Linked DNA regions of Homo sapiens: region 2 is linked to region 1. The links are contacts of gene promoters, found by promoter capture Hi-C in human tissues and cell types (Jung and others, 2019). All regions are on one chromosome and are shown on one strand. The core of a region is centred on a gene start or on the middle of the fragment in contact, and the rest is flanking DNA. Distances in the headings are between cores, read along the strand shown.

Region 1 (3,546 bases), core at 617-3,116:
GCTGTGAGCCCTTGAAAGTATTTCCTTATTCCCAGCCATTAGCAGAGGATTCGGCCCTGATGACACTTAATCACCATATGTTGACAGAAAGGGGCACTTTTTTGCTGAATACAAGTAAGAACTTTAATAGGTGGGGAAACATTTAAGTGGACCAGACAACATCAGGAAGCCAGAAAGTTTCCCAGCACTACAGGAGTCCAAGTAGATGTATGATAATATGGAGAGGATTTCAGCCTTCAAACAGAACTGAGTAAGCCTTAGGTCTTGCCTTGGAGACCCAAGTTCTATAAAAGATGACAGTAAAGCCCAAGTGAAGGGATGATCACATACAACTTGTATGAAGAGGGTGGAATCTAGAGAGGCTCCAAGGAGCTGGTGACATTCTTGGATCAAGTTCATATGTCAGATGGCTTCTTCCCTGAGGTTGAGTCCTCTCTAGAAGGCTCTTCAAGCCTCATACATACAAAAAAAAAAAAAGTTTTTATCCTTCTCTCCCCCATACCCAGTTTTCCTGATAAATCCAGACATATCTAAACTTAGCAGTGGACAGAGCTTGAACAGTCCTCAGTTGGTCTTCAGGCCCCTTGCAAACAGACCTCTGGCATACTTGTCTCATCAGTTTCAAACACACCCCAGATACACTTTCATCCCCTACAATATATTTTCTGAATTTTGAGTATCATTGTGAGAAATTCACATTGAATCTAAGGCTAAAATCATCTCAGCTTTTCTGACAGTCCCACTGCACTTGTAAAAGTCAGTTATATTCAGTTATTTTTTCCTCTCCCACTATTCGGTCAATTCTTCAAGATCAGGAGCTATATTCCCACTTCCTAAGCATGCACTTGGCAGCTGTATGTTCCAGCCGGTGTTTTATTCTTGCAATTCCACAGGGACAGGGTTTTGGATACAACAGGCTGGTTTGAGCATAATTATTCTTAGTACATAAGCTCATTATTGTGTGTGTTATCCAAAATCTTAAAGGACTACAGCACTCTGCTTTTTATAGAGAGGAAGAGGCACACCCCACCATTCCTAACACATACTGAATCTTGACTGAATGACTGTAGAAAGCAGATTGCCCTGGGTTTGAAACCCACTATCAGCTGTGTGACTTCGAGAAAATTACCTGGTCTCTCTAAGCCTCAATGTCCTCAGTTGCAAAAAGGACATTCTATTCATACCAGGATTGTTTTAAATAACATTTAGCATGGTGCTTGGTGTATAAGAAGCATTTCAAAAATGTTGTCCACTCATTCTGTGACTTCTCATATACTCTTGCCTTCTCCACGAAAAAAAAAAAAAAAAAAAAGATTGTTAATATCCTTTTGGGGCACAACTGGAGAAGTGTATCTTGAAAGACCTAACTGACCGTTTTACAACCACAATCTGCACTATGGTGCACTGAGTGATGTGAGTCATGCAAGTGTAGGCTAAATCTTTTTATTTAGAATGTTGATATTTCACGGACTTCTGAAAATTTATTACGATTTTTTGAAATATTACATTAAAAAATTACTTACTTTGATAACCGCAGTTTACCTGGCACCCTCTTAAATTTTGCATCCAAGGCAGTGCCTCATTCGTTTGGCCCTTGTCCTGTCCTGCCTACTGTCACACCACGACCTAAATCTGAGACTAGAGCAGCCAGAAAAACTGGAAGGAAAAGAACCCCGTTCCTTACCTGAGTTTACCCTTCTGCCCTAGAGCGCTACCCCGGCCCAGGAAAGTGGGCACAGGGAGCGTACTACAGCTCCCACAAGGCCACGCGGGACTGCGTCCTCGCCTATTGGCTGCGCGGGTCCCGCCCTCCCCCTGCCCCTCCCCGCCCTTGCTGGGATGACCCCGGGGGCGAGTGCCCGGCCAGTGTGCTCCCGAAGCGGGCTGCGGTTCCGCTCGTATCAGGCTTCATGGCGGCGCGGCCACTGTCCCGGATGCTGCGGCGGCTTCTGAGGTCCAGCGCCCGGAGCTGCAGCTCAGGGGCTCCGGTGACCCAGCCCTGCCCCGGGGAGTCCGCGCGAGCTGCCTCGGAGGTGAGCCCACCCCGCCTGCGTCCACAGCTTCCCGGGGCAGGAGTGGCCCCGGCACACTGCCCTTTTCCCCCAGTAGCTCCCGGCCTATCTGCTTGACCGCTTCTGGGAGGGACCCGTTGGCACTCCTCAGTGGAGCGATGTTCTCCAGATGGACCGCCCGGTCTCACCCGCTAGCCCAGCGGGAGAGGTTCCTGGGAGTCCCGCTTCAGAACCTCCCTGCCCCCCAGCCACGCCACCCCTTCTAGCCCTGAGCTTGGCCAGAAATTCGGGTAAGCAGAGGACTGGGACTTTGGGTCCAGTGAGGTGTCTTAGTACCTTTCAGCCTTGCCTTGCACCCACCCTCTTTCTTAAACATTTTCCCTCCCTATCCCAAGAGCTGAGAGATCAGGTGTCCCTGTGACACCTGCTTCATAGTGCGACTGACTAAACATGTCACCTCGGTGTCACCAACGATGAGTTGTTACTGTAGTCCCAGGGCTCTGTAACCCATCCTTTGCTGACTCTCCTTGTCTTTTTTATTAACCTTGGGAGGGTTCAGCCTTATCCTAGAGCAGAACAGGGCAGGACGTGGCTTCTTCCAGGTGAGAAATTAATTCCTCTGTCTTTAGGGTTTTGGGTAAGATCCCTCAGTCCTTGCCAGCACCCCTCAGAGTGTTTCAAGTCATTAAAAGTTTTAGGTTTTGGTTGTTCTTCTGCTCAGGTGGTTAGGGAATAATTTGGGGGGAAAAGTACCTCTTTTCATTTAGTGAAACCTCTTTTCGGTACCTATCTAGGCGTTTTTTTCCCCGTCTCCCAGAACTAGGCTTCCTGTCCTGGGATTCATAAGATCACTGCTCCCTCCTCCCCTATATTGCTCAATGACTTCCGCCAAATTTGCTTTCCCCAAATCTAAGCCCCTCTGGGATCCTCAGATAAGCAGGCCCATGGTTGGGAAGTGAAGACTTTTTAGTATCCTCAAACTCTGAACATCATTGAGGAAGAGATAGGAAAGCAAAGATGGCTGAGAGATCTTTAAAGAATTCAAGAAAAGGGACTTTTCTTCTCCAGCCCCCCACCCCCTAGTTTATTTTGTACTGGTCTTTCATGAGAGAACCTGTGTTGAGTGACTCACATGTGGAAGCATTTAGTCCTCACTAAGCCATGTGAGGTGAGTAGAGTTTGTATGTTCAGATGAGGGGGCTAATCTAAGTTAACTTTCCTCCAGTCGCAGAGCTGTAGAGGGCAGGAACTCAACTCTAATGCTTTTCCGTCCTCCCTGTGTGGAGGCCAGGGAGAGAGCCTGCTCCTATCCATCCCTTTACACTGTGAAGGGAGGGGTAATGTGGCAGAAAGGAGAACATAGACTCTGGGGCAGCCCCATCCCTTATTAGGGATTCACCAAGTCCCCTTACCTCTCAGTGTCTGTTTTCTCATCTGCAAAGTAAGAATAAAAGTGTCTACTTCATAGGATGTCACAGGGATTAAAAGAGTTAACGTATGTTAACGTATATACTTAGAACAAAGCTTAGCCCAT
Region 2 (3,546 bases), core at 683-3,182, 310 kb before region 1:
GGGAAGAAATATCTCACCATTTTTTGTTCTCAAACAGTGATGCAATTGACATTTATACAAGGGACAGTCTATTCCCTGGCATGTGGATTGGCTTTTACCGCAAAATGTATAAAACAGGACAATGCGGATAGTCATTAGACCCCCGGTACATGTGTGCTCAGCACTCCACCAGGCACTTTACGGGTTTTATTTCATTTACTCTTCACTACAATTCTATAAAGTCAATATCATTAGTCCCATTTTACAGGTGAAAAAAATAGAGCTCAGGGAATACAAGCAACTGGTCTAGAGTCACATAGAGGCAGAGTTGGGATTTAAACCCAGGACTGTATATATTGTCTTGGGAGCATTAAATTTTTGAGTGGTTGAACATCAGCATTGTTCTAGATAACAAAAATGTCAGTATCTTGTGTTCAGTGTCCTCCCCTCCACAAACACACAGAAAAACATTATTCAACCAAATCTGCATATAATTGTCCAATTTTTTATGGCATGGAAATGAGGCTTATTGAGTCTACCTGTATAGGTCTCCACGTGTCCCTTCTGAGAGGAAAATGGGGGAGGTGTCAGATGATTGGCAACCTCCAAAGGGAATTTGAAAGAGGCCAGCAGTCTCCTTCTGATTTAGGAAGGCCTGCTGTGTGGGCACTACAGGTCAGCTTGCTCGCCCTCCATCCTGCCCTTCTTCTAGGCTGTCTTCTTGCACTTTAAGGGCTGGAAAGCTAAGAATTACATTCCTCAGACTTCTTTTTTTTTTTAATATACTTTAAGTTTTAGGGTACATGTGCCCATTGTGCAGGTTAGTTACATATGTATACATGTGCCATGCTGGTGTGCTGCACCCACTAACTCGTCATCTAGCATTAGGTATATCTCCTGATGCTATCCCTCCCCCCTCCCCCCACCCCACAACAGTCCCCAGAGTGTGATATTCCCCTTCCTGTGTCCATGTGATCTCATTGTTCAATTCCCACCTATGAGTGAGAATATGCGGTGTTTGGTTTTTTGTTCTTGCGATAGTTTACTGAGAATTATGATTTCCAATTTCATCCATGTCCCTACAAAGGACATGAACTCATCATTTTTTATGGTTGCATAGTATTCCATGGTGTATATGTGCCACATTTTCTTAATCCAGTCTATCATTGTTGGACATTTGGGTTGTTTCCAAGTCTTTGCTATTGTGAATAATGCCGCACCAGTTAGAATGGCAATCATTAAAAAGTCAGGAAACAACAGGTGCTGGAGAGGATGTGGAGAAATAGGAACACTTTTACACTGTTGGTGGGACTGTAAACTAGTTCAACCATTGTGGAAGTCAGTGTGGCAATTCCTCAGGGATCTAGAACTGGAAATACCATTTGACCCAGCCATCCCATTACTGGGTATATACCCAAAGGACTATAAATCATGCTGCTATAAAGACACATGCACACGTATGTTTATTGCGGCATTATTCCTCAGACTTCTTTGTAGTGATTTTTCTACGTATCTATTAAGCTCTCTAATGAAATGTTTTTACATAAGACTTGGGAGACAAAGTGAGGTAGAGGCCACCTTGCTGCTGCTTTTGATTATATTTCTGCTAGAAAGAGAGGTTGAGGAGATGTGGCTTTTATTTTTCCTCTGCAGCAGCTTCCCAGTGCCCGCTTTTTTTTGGGTGTGGAGAAGCAGTTGTAGTGGACACAGTTGCTGAAAATCACATTCCAGACCCACCCACCAGCTTTGAGAGCAGTAAAACAGACAGGCACAGGGCACAGCTGTGGGGTTGCTTTCCTGGATTCCTGAGCCCTGAATCATGGCTTAGTGTGATCTTAAACTCAACAGCTTAGAGGTGCCCTAGAAGGAGCAGCTCCATTGACAAGTCAGCTTTGCAGTGTTCCAAGGGGCATCCCTGGACCCAACCTGAAACCCATAGGGTTCTAGTCCTCCTAAAGATTTTTAGGCACCTAATTCCATGCCTCTAATATCTTTCCATTTGAAATACCTAGAGATGTTTTCCATTTCTTTCACAGAACTTGACTGATATATTTCCTTGACTCCCTGAGTATCCAACCGTCTTCAATACATGGAAAGGGAAAGGAAAACTCTTTCAGACAAGAACATCCACCCTACTTTAAGGGGCTGAGATTTGGTTCAGAAGCCCACTCAGTTGATTGCTTTGGCTCATTGATTTCTACAAAGTTATAGACTTCTTGTTCACAAATGAAAATGCTCTGTTTCATGAATGTGTTGGTTGATTTTGTTAGTAAGAATCCTGTTCAGTATCAGGGAAGCTTCAGACACTTAGATAGGTATTCCTTCTCCTACTGGGCAGTTCTGAGCTCTAGAAGGCTTTCTGTGGGAGCAGGGTGTTCCCAGGGAAAGTCTCAAGTCCTGCTTTCCAGCCCTGAAGATAACAGTGTGTTGCTTCTCCCCACTGAGCCGTCAAAAGCCATGACAGATATCTTTTATTCCCTGAGGTCCTAGGAGTGGTTTGTAGGTTACCCAAGGAAGATCTTGTTTGTCCCCAGGATGGGGAGGAGCAGTGAGGCCTGAGTGGTTGGATTCCCTGCCCAGGGATGGTCCCGTATGGATATGGCTGGCTGGTGTGAGGAGGGGGCATTTAACACAGGAATCCTGCACTTCAATCATGAGAAGAGTTACTGAGCATGGCAGCCAGCACCATTTCACAGAGGAGCAAAATAAAACTCAAAGAGGAGAAGGGACTATTCCAGGTCCCACCATGAGTCAGTGGGAGAATAATGACAACAGCCCAGAACTCCTGACTCCAAAATAATTGTTCTTCCTACCCCAGTACACCAACCACCCGTTTACCCAGAAAAGACAACAGACAGACATCACTTTTGGAGGGTGTGACTGGGGACATGGCTATCACTGAGGTAAAGCTGATATGTGAGTTAGCTGGCGAACTTCCCTGCCTCCATTTTAGGCAATGAGGTGCATCCATCAGTATCCTTACAGCAAACAGGTGGCACCCTGAAATTGGGTTGCTTGGGGAAAATTTAGTGAAGAGACAGTATAAGTCAGCATTCTCCAGAGAAACAACCAATAGAATAGCTAGCTAGCTAGATTGCTAGATAGATAGATAGATAGATAGATAGATAGATAGATAGATAGATAGATAGATAGGAAATTTACTATGGGAAGTGTCTCACATGATTATGAATGCTGAGAAGTCCCACAATCTGCCATCTGCAGGCTGAAGAACCAGGAAAGCTGGTGGGATAATTCAGTCAGAATCCGAAGGCCTGAGAATCAGGAGCTCTGACATCTGAAAGCAGGAAAACTAGATGTTGCAGCTCAAGAAAAAAGAGAGAATTTGCTCTACCTATGCCTTTTGTTCTATTCAAGACCTTAACAGATTGGATGATGTCCACTCACACTGGTGGGAGCAGATCTTCTTTACTCAGTCTCCTTATTTAAATGCTAATTTCTTCCCAAAACACCCTCACAGGCAGACCCAGATAGAATGTTTCACAAGCTATCTGGGCATCCCATAGCCCAGTCAAGTTGACACATAAAACAAACCATCACAAGGACATT

Evidence for each region. The method cuts DNA at HindIII sites, captures the fragments that hold promoters and counts their contacts. A contact is called where the count stands out against the background at its distance.
Region 2: a fragment that was not itself captured here is called in contact with the fragment with the promoter of MOCS1 in region 1 in 1 of the 25 tissues and cell types used here (mesendoderm cells).

The regions. Positions count from the first base shown.
Region 1 is chr6:39,932,782-39,936,327 of GRCh38, reverse strand. MOCS1 (molybdenum cofactor synthesis 1) reads left to right here and starts at 1,866. Exons shown (of 11, transcript NM_001358530.2): 1 at 1,866-2,033. The coding sequence starts at 1,911. It overlaps LOC102723789 (a long non-coding RNA gene), which reads right to left and starts at 1,759. Exons shown (of 6, transcript XR_001744112.1): 1 at 1,685-1,759. The HindIII fragment of the contact is 11,059 bases long and covers 1-3,546 here.
Region 2 is chr6:40,243,117-40,246,662 of GRCh38, reverse strand. No RefSeq gene overlaps it. Among named protein-coding and RNA genes, the nearest start is that of LINC00951, 110 kb to the left of the region's middle. The HindIII fragment of the contact is 7,594 bases long and covers 1-3,546 here.